3 separate regions of the Homo sapiens genome follow, and all the other regions are linked to region 2. The links are contacts of gene promoters, found by promoter capture Hi-C in human tissues and cell types (Jung and others, 2019). All regions are on one chromosome and are shown on one strand. Each heading gives the region's core, a stretch centred on a gene start or on the middle of the fragment in contact. The rest is flanking DNA. Distances are from core to core; before and after follow the strand shown. Region 1 has its middle 85 kb from the start of TRIM69. Region 2 holds the start of SPG11 (SPG11 vesicle trafficking associated, spatacsin). Region 3 has its middle 63 kb from the start of TERB2.

What was found. The method cuts DNA at HindIII sites, captures the fragments that hold promoters and counts their contacts. A contact is called where the count stands out against the background at its distance.
Region 1: a fragment that was not itself captured here is called in contact with the fragment with the promoter of SPG11 in region 2 in 1 of the 25 tissues and cell types used here (heart right ventricle).
Region 3: a fragment that was not itself captured here is called in contact with the fragment with the promoter of SPG11 in region 2 in 1 of the 25 tissues and cell types used here (H1 embryonic stem cells).

What each region holds. Positions count from the first base shown.
Region 1 is chr15:44,820,120-44,823,604 of GRCh38, reverse strand. No RefSeq gene overlaps it. Among named protein-coding and RNA genes, the nearest start is that of TRIM69, 85 kb to the right of the region's middle. RefSeq lists a silencer at 3,200-3,485. The HindIII fragment of the contact is 6,198 bases long and covers 1-3,485 here.
Region 2 is chr15:44,661,793-44,665,242 of GRCh38, reverse strand. SPG11 (SPG11 vesicle trafficking associated, spatacsin) reads left to right here and starts at 1,581. Exons shown (of 40, transcript NM_025137.4): 1 at 1,581-1,852. The coding sequence starts at 1,596. RefSeq lists enhancers at 1,117-1,286, 1,327-1,806, 1,281-2,237, 2,347-2,486. The HindIII fragment of the contact is 12,399 bases long and covers 1-3,450 here.
Region 3 is chr15:44,891,864-44,895,149 of GRCh38, reverse strand. No RefSeq gene overlaps it. Among named protein-coding and RNA genes, the nearest start is that of TERB2, 63 kb to the left of the region's middle. The HindIII fragment of the contact is 4,283 bases long and covers 1-3,286 here.

The DNA.
Region 1 (3,485 bases), core at 954-3,453, 160 kb before region 2:
ACAAACATACTTGTTTTCATTTAATAAATGGCTAAATTTCTTTCTATGTCAATAATTATACACATCATTATTTTAAATCACCACATCCCATTGTGTGGATAGACTATCATTTATAAAGCAAATTGCAGTATTTTGAGTGTTTGGATAGTTTACAGAGTTTTGCTCTAATAATAAAGTTGCAATGACAACCCTTGTTGCATATTTTTGTTCTCCTGACTCATTATTTCCTGAAGTTATTAATATGTTATTTCTTGAAGTTATATTTTAGAATGAAAATAGCTGGGGTTAAGGGTACACACATTTTTAAGGTGACCTGGTTAGACAAGAAAACACAGTATTGACATTCAGACTGTCTAAGAAAATCTCTGGGGGTGCCCCAGGCCTTGTGTGATGTGGGAGGACTCTGGGGTCTTGGGTAGCTCACAGGGGCTGCTGAGGATGAGGCCATGAAGCCACTGGCTCTCTGGCTTCAGGCCACCCTTGGGAAAGCAGGGGCCTAGACCCATAAACTTGGACAGATTGCCATTTTCCAGGCCCCAGTTTCCTTATTAGTAAAATTGGTGGTCCCTTTTAGCTCTGGGACTACTGCCAGGACATGACAACAAACAGCTCCTGTAAAGGACTGGCACAGAATTCACAGGGAACTGTGGCCCAGCTACTGTGGAGCAGTGAGCCGCCATCAATGAACTTATACTGGAAGCCTTCCCTACCCCGTCCCTCCACCTCAATTCCAGGGGACACTGGGTACCGTTCACCAAACTTTTTTTTTCTCCTCCAGGTTTATCTTACAACCAAATCCAAGCAGAGGCTGCCCCACCCCAACACCCCATTTTACACAAGGAGGGAATGCCAACAGAATTCAGCAGCCTGACTCGCTCACCCCTCACCACTTCCATTGCTCAGGGCATTGTGGGGAGGGAAAATCCCACCTCAGCCCAATACACTTCCAGAGTTCCCTACTACAGGCATTCTGCAATAGTTAACCAGACCTGGGCTCACTGACATGGTTGGGATGGAAGAGGCTGGGCAAATGGCAGCTTCAGCTAACCTTGAGGCTGCCATGTTCACTCTTCCCCACTGGTCCTCAGGAAGATGAGAATCCCTGATCCCCTGTGGCACACAGCAGAGGGCCCAGGAGGAAGAAGCCAGAGGGAGGCAAAACAGAGAGCCCGGGAAACTTGCCCACCTACAGAGAGCAAAGTGCCCTCTCCTTAAGTAATCCATTCCCACTGCCACAGCAACAGATAGGCGACTCGGAAGTTGGGGAGCCTCCGTGATGGCTTCAGGGATCTTCCCAGAAAGTACAGAGCACATGTTGCTATCTTTCTCCTGGCTAGGCCCACCCAAGTTAGTCAATATCCAGGAGCCCCTTCCCCTTGTGCCTGACCTGGCAATTTCAGGAAACTAAAGTCTGGGACTCCTGATCTATCTTTTGGCCCAGTAACAATGTTATTCAGGACAAAAATATTTCTGCTTGTAATAACCTAGAATTAGTGTTTCTTACGATATATAAAGATGGGGCATATTGCTGTTGAACACTGTCAGCAATGAAACAGCAAAAGAAACAATGGGGGAGAGGGAGGAGCATAAGACCATTGAGATCTGTTTCACTGAGAAGTTTAGGGCAGGAGCCCCTGCAACTCTAAAGAAAGGCCATTCACCAAACCTTTTTTTTTTTTTTTTTTGGAGACAGGATCTCATTCTGTCGCCCAGGCTGGAGTGCAGTGGCGTGATCTCAGCTCACTGCAACCTCCACATCCCAGATCCAAGAGATTCTCCTGTCTCAGCCTCCTGAGTAGCCAGGATTACAGGCACACACCACCACGCCTGGCTAATTTTTTTGTATTTTAGTAGATACTGGGTTTCACTATGTTGCCCTGGCTGGTCTCTTGAGCTCAGGCAATCTACTCGCCTCGGCCTCCCAAAGTGCTAGAATTACAGGCAAGAGCCACCGCACCCGGCCCATTCACCAAACTTTAACAAATCACCAGGAAGAAGTAAGGGTGGTGTGTGTAGAATGTTCCTTATTGGTTCTGACCTCTCCAAGTAGGTGCAAATCCATGTGGCATAAAATGACTTGGACTGGGTACTGGCTTAGTCCATTTTGTGTTGCTATAACAGAATACTTGGGACTGAGTGATTTACAAATAAAGGGGTTTATTTAGCTCACAGTTTTGCAGGCCGGGAAGTTTAAGGGCATGGCACTGCCTTCTGGTAAGGGCTTTTGTGCTACACTATAACATTGCAGAGAAAGTCAAAGGGGAAGCAGACACATGTGAAGAGGCCAAACTCAAGGGACATCCTGGCTTTGTAACAACCCACTCTTGTGGATCTAATCCGTTCCTGAGAGAATCCAGTCTTGCTAGAGTGAGAACTCACTACCGCGAAAATGGCACCAAGCCATTTGGGAGGAATCTGTCCTTATGACCCAAACACCTCCCATTAGCCATCTGCTCCCAAAACTGCCACGTTGGGGATCAAATTTCAACATGAGTTTTGGTGGGGTCAAACTCAAACCATAGCAGGTGTTAATATGCAGATCTTAGATGCTCAGACCCCAAGAAACTTGGCAATTTGTAGAACCCTTAAGGAACTTTGCCTTCTGAGTGATTCGAAAGCATTTGTCACATTGCTGTTTCATTCTGTGGGCACATATGTGTATGTAACGCTGTGCTTATATAGCTTAACAATACTGTGTAGATTTTCGAGTGCTCTTGCATATTTGCGCTATCTGCTTTCAGGAATACCAAAGGGAATCATATCTTTTGCCACTCATCATGTGAGATGGGATAGGGCTGCCAGCGCTGACAGTATTAAGGTTTAACGATTCTCAGGAACTTCTGGGAAAACTGTTATCAGTAAGCAGAAGGAGTCCAACACATGATCTGTGAGAAGGTGAATGCGGAAAAAGCTGGGAGGCAAGGAACTAGTCATCCAGGGCAGACTGAAGAAAGTGACTCAGCTCTGGCCTTTGGGGACTGGGGCTGCTGGTTCTGGGGAGCAGCTGGGCTTTCAGCATAGCACAGGGACAGACAGGCTCTAGCCAGAGCTCTCCTGGGCCAACCCCAACTTGCCTTCCCCTGCACCACACACTAAATCCCCACACCTTGCTGAACACCCAACAAAACTAGGACCTGAGGAAGGCCCTTGCTCCTGCCATGCTGCCTTCCTCCGGAATGGGGTTCCAGAGGGAATGATGCTTCTGAAGGGAAAACAGACATTGCCAAGGTGGTTGGCTGGGAAAGTTTCTGTCATCCAGTCTGTGTCTGGCCATGGGCCTGTGGCTGACTGGAGGGACAGCTCTCCTGCATTTGGAAGAGGCACTTGTAAAGGAAGAGACCAGTGGGTTGTGTAGATGTCTTGGGCTCCCTATAGTAAGGAAGAGGTGAGTACACGTTAGGCTACTCTGCTTCCTGATGACCTCGAGCAACTCACTTGACTCCTTCAAGCTTCAGGTTCCTCATCCTTTAAGTGGGAAAAATAAA
Region 2 (3,450 bases), core at 332-2,831:
TTAGAGGTTGCAGTGAGCCAAGACTGTGCCATTGCACTCCAGCCTGGACAACAAGAGCAAAACTCTCAAAAAAAATTTTTTTTGATTTTTTTTGTAGAGACAAGGGTCTCCCTATGTTGGCAAGGGTGGGCTCCAGTGATCCTCCCAACTTGGCCTCCCAAAGTGCTGGGATTTACAGGCATGAGAAGACTGTCCTGATTATAAGGGACAAGGCTTTGTTGTAGCTAACACAAGTGTAACCTTAGAAATTGCTTTAACGTTGCCATTTTTTACAGAAAGAACACAGCCCCAGCTAAGCTTAGAAGGTTGAATATATCTCCCTTGTGATAGAAAACGTTTGGTTTCAGCTGGGCACGGTGGCTCACGTCTGTAATCTTAGCACTTCCAGGCTGGGACAGGTAAATCACCGGAGGTCAGGAATTCGAAACCAGCCTGGCCAACATGGTGAAACCCCGTCTCTACTAAAATACAAAAATTTAGCTGGGTGTGGCGTGCGCCTGTAATCCCAGCTACTGGGAAGGCTGAGGCAGAATTGCTTGAGCCCAGGAGGCGGAGGTTGCAGTGAGCCGAGATCCCGCCACTGCACTCCAGCCTGAGTGACAAAGCGAGACTCCATCTCAAAAGAAAAAAAAAGTTTGCTTTTATTTTGACAAATAAGGTCATGCATTGATCAACAAATGCGGGAGTACCTTTCATGAAACATGCACTGTTTTAGGTACTAGCCAGGACAGTGGTGAGCAACAAAGTCCTTGCTCTTTTGAAGTTTACATTCTTATTGGACAGGAACTGGCAGAAAATATCAAGTAGTGATAAATACTATGATTAAAAACAAAACTAGGTGAGAGACTGCAGTAGAAGGGACCTTAGGTTGAATGGCTTGGGGAGGCCTGTCAATAGAGGTTACATTTATGCTGAAATGTTCTGAATGTGGAAGATGTGTTAAGAAGGTACAGTTGTCTTTTAGGAGACTTTACCAAAATACCTATTCAACCCCTCTTCTCACCTCAAACTCTTTGCTCCTCTCCTTCTCTTGATCTTGGATCATACTTCCCTGAGAAAACAGACAGGAGCTCTCTACCATCTCCACCCCTTACTTACCCCGTCTCTCTGACTGTTACAATGGATATTATTTGACTTCAAATTTCGGGTCAACACCCTTACTATGGATCCACACTGTAAGACGGTCCATGCTACCAAGGAAATGGCACCACCCCAGAGCCTGTAAGCGAACAGCACAATAAGAAAAGCGAAGAAAAGAGGCAGGAACTGGGTTCCAAGGGAGCTGGAGGCAGCTGGACCAAGAAGGCAAAGAGCAATGCCACAGAGCGAGAACGGCTGCAACGGCCTGCTACGCTAAGCTAGGCCTTCAAGCATGCCAGAGCAGTTAAGCAGAGTGGGACTGGCGTCAGGGCAGATGTGGCTTTGCTAGAGAGGCTGGTACTGCCCCCCACAGGAAACGAATGGAATCGACCGGAGACAGCCGAGAGGTCTCCGCGGGAGTCACGAGGCCGAGCGGGAGCCGCTACGTACACCGCGCATGCCCACGACGCAGTCAGGTTCCGGCGAAAGTGACCGGAAGTAACCGCCGGGCCAAGATGGCTGCAGAGGAAGGGGTCGCGAGTGCTGCTTCCGCCGGCGGTAGCTGGGGCACCGCGGCCATGGGGCGGGTTCTACCGATGCTGTTGGTGCCAGTCCCCGCCGAGGCGATGGGGCAGCTCGGCTCCCGGGCGCAGCTGCGCACACAGCCGGAGGCTCTGGGGAGCCTGACGGCTGCGGGCAGCCTCCAAGTGCTTTCTTTGACGCCTGGCAGCCGGGGCGGGGGTCGCTGCTGCCTGGAGGGCCCCTTCTGGCAGTAAGTGCTGAGGGAGAGTTGGGCCGTTGGGGGAGTCCAGAGCCTAGGCTCGGCTGACTGAGCCCCAAGGGCTCACGCCGAGGCCTCCCTGCAGCCATAGAGGTGGCGGGAGAAGGGTGCCAGCTGCAGGAAACGCCCCAGAGGCGAGCGTGGTTTCCTCACAGAACCTTTCCCCCGACCTGAAACGCTCGCCTCGTTGCATTCTGGCAGCCCAGCTCTCCTGTTCCGGGTGGGCGGAGACGGCACCCAGCTCCATTGCCACCTGCGGCGAACCCGGAACGGGTCTCAGCTGAGGCGCTGATTCTTTCATTATTCAACACAGGTTGATTAACTGTCACAGGGTCGAGTCCCATGCCCATTTCTTTCAGTTAAAGATGCCAGCTGAGGATCATCTCTAATTTGAATCATCCTGATACTTTTTTCATGTCCTTGAAGTGAATAGCGTTTTCTTTCACATGTAGTCCTCTTCTTCAAGGACAGAGTCCAGTTTGTCCCTTCATTTATTCAGCAAATATTGTGTGCTTGCTGTTACATAGGAGCAGTGCCTAAAAAGTTGAGTAAGACACTTCTTTCTTGCGAGGCGCGCATGTTTGGGGAAGACAAACATGATTACAATAATGCATTACTTTGTACTTCCGTAACTCTTGGTTCAGTACTTAAGAGTTTACATCATAAAGTTTGGGAACGCCCTCTTAGTGTTTTGAGTGGGCTGCTGCTTTTTTTTTTTTTTTTTTTTTTTTAAAGATAAGGTCGCTGTCGCCCAGGCTGGAGTGTAGTGGCTCAGTCACGGTTCACGGCAGCCAGCCTTGACCTCCCGGGCTCAGCCTCCCCAGCAGCTACGACTACAGGCGTGCACCACCAGGCCTGGCTAATTTTTCTAGTTTTTGTAGAGATGAGGTCTCACTGTGTTGCCTAGGCTAGTCTCAAGCTCCTGGGCTCAAGTGATCCCGCCTCTCCCTGCCAAAGTGTTGGGATTACAGGTGTGAGCCACTGAGCCTGACCTGTTCTTTTAATAATTATTAATAGTAAGTATTTTCACAACTCTTTCTTTAAGATGAGTAGCCAAAAGGTGTCTTATTAATCTTGGAATCTCCAGCTCCTCTAACAGCTCCTGACATTTAGAGATTCATTTGATACATCAGTGAATGCTTAACTCTTCTGGGTTTGTCTTCTCTACCCTTGATGTCTAGTTGCTCGAAAGAGGAATCTCTGCGTTTAGTTTATAAACTTATTATAAACTAAGTTATTTATAAACTAGTTTAGGGGAAATTAGTTTATTTAGCAGTATCAAGTACCTATGAATGTGGCTCTGTAAAGAGAGGAATGGGGCAAAGAAAAGCCGAAATCTTTAGGTGTTTGAGAACCCAGCAGGGAAGGTAAGACCGAGATGAAATAAAGGGGGCGTTCATATGCTAGTTCATGAAATTAGAGGGGAGGAGGACCAAGAAAGGACTTTTTAACTTTTTTAGTTGAATTGAATTTTAATTCAGTTAAAATACTTCATAGGTTAAAAATAAGGGCATGTTTATAGTATTTAGAGTTTACTTCCTACTTTTTCAAAGTACATAGGTCTTTTTAATATTGTTGAAATTACATCA
Region 3 (3,286 bases), core at 700-3,199, 230 kb before region 2:
CTGAAAGTGACAGAGAGAATGGAACCAAGTTAGGGAACACTTTTCAGGATATTATCTGGGAGAACTTCCCCAACCTAGCAAGGCAGGCCAACATTCAAATTCAGGAAATACATAGAACACCACAAAGATACTCCTTGAGAAGAGCAATCCCAAGACACACAATTGTCAGACGCTCCAAGGTTGAAATGAAGGAAAAAATGTTAAGGGCAGTCAGAGAGAAAGGTTGGGTAACCCACAAAGGGAAGCCCATCAGACTAACAGCAGATCTCTTGGCAGAAACTCTACAAGCCAGAAGAGAGTGGGGGACAATATTCAACATTCTTTAAGGAAAGAATTTTCAACCCAGAATTTCATATCCAGCCAAACTAAGCTTCCTAAGTGAAGGAGAAATAAAATCCTTTACAGACAAGCAAATGCTTTTGTCACCCCCAGGCCTGCCTTACAAGAGCTCCTGAAGGAAACACTAAACATGGAAAGCAACAACCAGTACCAGCCACTGCAAAATATGCCAAATTTTAAAGACCATTGATGCTAGGAAGAAACTGCATCAATTAATGGGCAAAATAACCAGCTAACATCATAATGACAGGATCAAATTCACACATAACAATTTAACCTTAAATGTAAATGGGATAAATACCCCAATTAAAAGACAGATACTGACAAATAGGATAATGAGTCAAGACCCATCAGTGTACTGTATTCAGGAGACCCATCTCACGTGCAGAGACACACATTGGCTCAAAATAAAGGGATGGAGGAAGATCTACCAAGCAAATGGAAAGCAAAAAGAAAAGCAGGGGTTGTATTCCTAGTCTCTGATAAAACAGACTTTGAACCAACAAAGATCAAAAGAGACAAAGAAGGCCATTACATAATGGTAAAGGGATCAATTCAACAAGAAGAGCTAACTATCCTAAATATATATGCACCCAATACAGGGGCACCCAGATTCATAAAGCAAATCCTTAGAGACCTACAAAGAGACTTAGACTCTCACACAATAATGGGAGATTATAACACCCCACTGTCAATATTAGACAGATCAATGAGACAGAAGGCTAACAAGGATATCCAGGACTTGAACTCACCTCTGCACCTAGTGGACCTAATAGACATCTACAGAACTCTCCACCCCAAATCAACATTATACACATTCTTCTCAGCACCACATCGCACTTCTTCCAAAATTGACCACATAGTTGGAAGTAAAACACTCCTCAGCAAATGTAAAAGAACAGAAATCACAACAAACTGTCTCTCAGACCACAGTGCAAACAAACTAGAAATCAGGATTAAGAAACTCACTCAAAACCACACAAATACATGGAAACTGAACAACCTGTTCCTGAATGAATACTGGGTAAATAACGAAATGAAGGCAGAAATAAAGATGTTCTTTGAAACCAATGAGAACAAAGACACAACGTACCAGAATCTCCGGGACACATTTAAAGCAGTGTGTAGAAGGAAATTTATAGCACTAAATGCCCACAAGAGAAAGCAGGAAAGATCTAAAATCAACACCCTATCATGACAATTGAAAGAACTAGAGAAGCAACAGAAAACATATTCAAAAGCTAGCATACGGCAAGAAATAACTAAGATCAAAGCAGAACTGAAGGAGATAGAGATACAACAAACCCTTCAAAAAAACAGTGAATCCAGGAGCTGGTTTTTTGAAAAGATCAATAAAATTGATAGATTGCTAGCAAGACTAATAAAAGAAAGAGAGAAGAATCAAATAAATGCAATAAAAAACGATAAAGGGGATATCACCACAGATCCCACAGAAATACAAACTACCACCAGAGAATACTATAAACACTTCTATGGAAATAAACTAGAAAATCTAGAAGAAATGGATAATTCCCTGGACACACACACCCTCCCAAGACTAAACCAGGAAGAAGATGAATCTCTGAATAGAACAATAATATGTTCTGAAATTGAGGCAATAATTAATAGCCTATCAACCAAAAAAAAGTCCAGGACCAGACAAATTCACAGCCAAATTGTACCAGAGGTATAAAAAGGAGCTGGTACCATTCCTTCTGAAACTATTTCAAACAATAGAAAAAGAGGGAATCCTCCCTAATTTTATGAGGCCAGCATCATCCTGATACCAAAGCCTGGCAGAGACACAACAAAAAAAGAGAAATTTAGACCAATATCCCTGATGAAGATCGATGCAAAATTAGTATAGTCAAACCGAATCCAGCAGCACCTCAAAAAGCTTATACACCACAATCAACTCGGCTTCATCCCTGCAATGAAAGGCTGGTTCAACATATGCAAATCAACAAACATAATCCATCACATAAACAGAACTGATGACAAAAACCACATGATTATCTCAATCGATGCAGAAAAGGCTTTTGACAAAATTCAACAGCGCTTCATGCTGAAAACTCTCAATAAACTAGGTATTGATGGAATGTATCTCAAAATAATAACAACTAGTTATGACAAAACCATAGCCAATATCATACTGAATGGGCAAACACTGGAAGCATTCCCTTTGAAAACCGGCACAAGACAAGTATGCCCTCTTTCACCACTCCTATTCAACATAGTGTTGGAAGATGGGCCAGGGCAATCGGGCAAGAGAAAGAAATAAAGGGTATTCAATTAGGAAAAGAGGAAGTTAAATTGTCCCTGTTTGCAGATGACATGATTGTGTATTTAGAAAATCCCATCATCTCAGCCCAAAATCTCCTTAGGCTGATAAGCAACTTCAGCAAAGTCTCAGGATACAAAATCAATGTGCAAAAATCACAAGCATTCCTATACGGCAATAACAGACAAACAGAGAGCCAAATCATGAGTGAACTCCCATTCACAATTGCCACAAAGAGAATAAAATACCTAGGAATCCAACTTCACAGGGGATGTGAAGGACCTCTTCAAGGAGAACTACAAACCACTGCTCAATGAAATAAAAGAGGACACAAACAAATGGAAGAACATTCCATGCTCATGGATAGGAAGAATCAACATCGTGAAAATGGCCATACTGCCCAGGGTAATTTATAGATTCAATGCCATCCCCATCAAGTTACCAATGACTTTCTTCACAGAATTGGAGAAAACTACTTTAAAGTTCATATGGAACCTAAAAAGAGCCCGCATAGCCAAGATAATCCTAAGCCAAAAGAACAAAGCTGGAGGCATCACACTACCTGACTTCAAACTATACTACAAGGCTACAGTAACCAAAACAGCATGGTACTGGTACCAAAACAGATATATAGATAAATGGAACAGAACAGTGGCCTCAGAAATA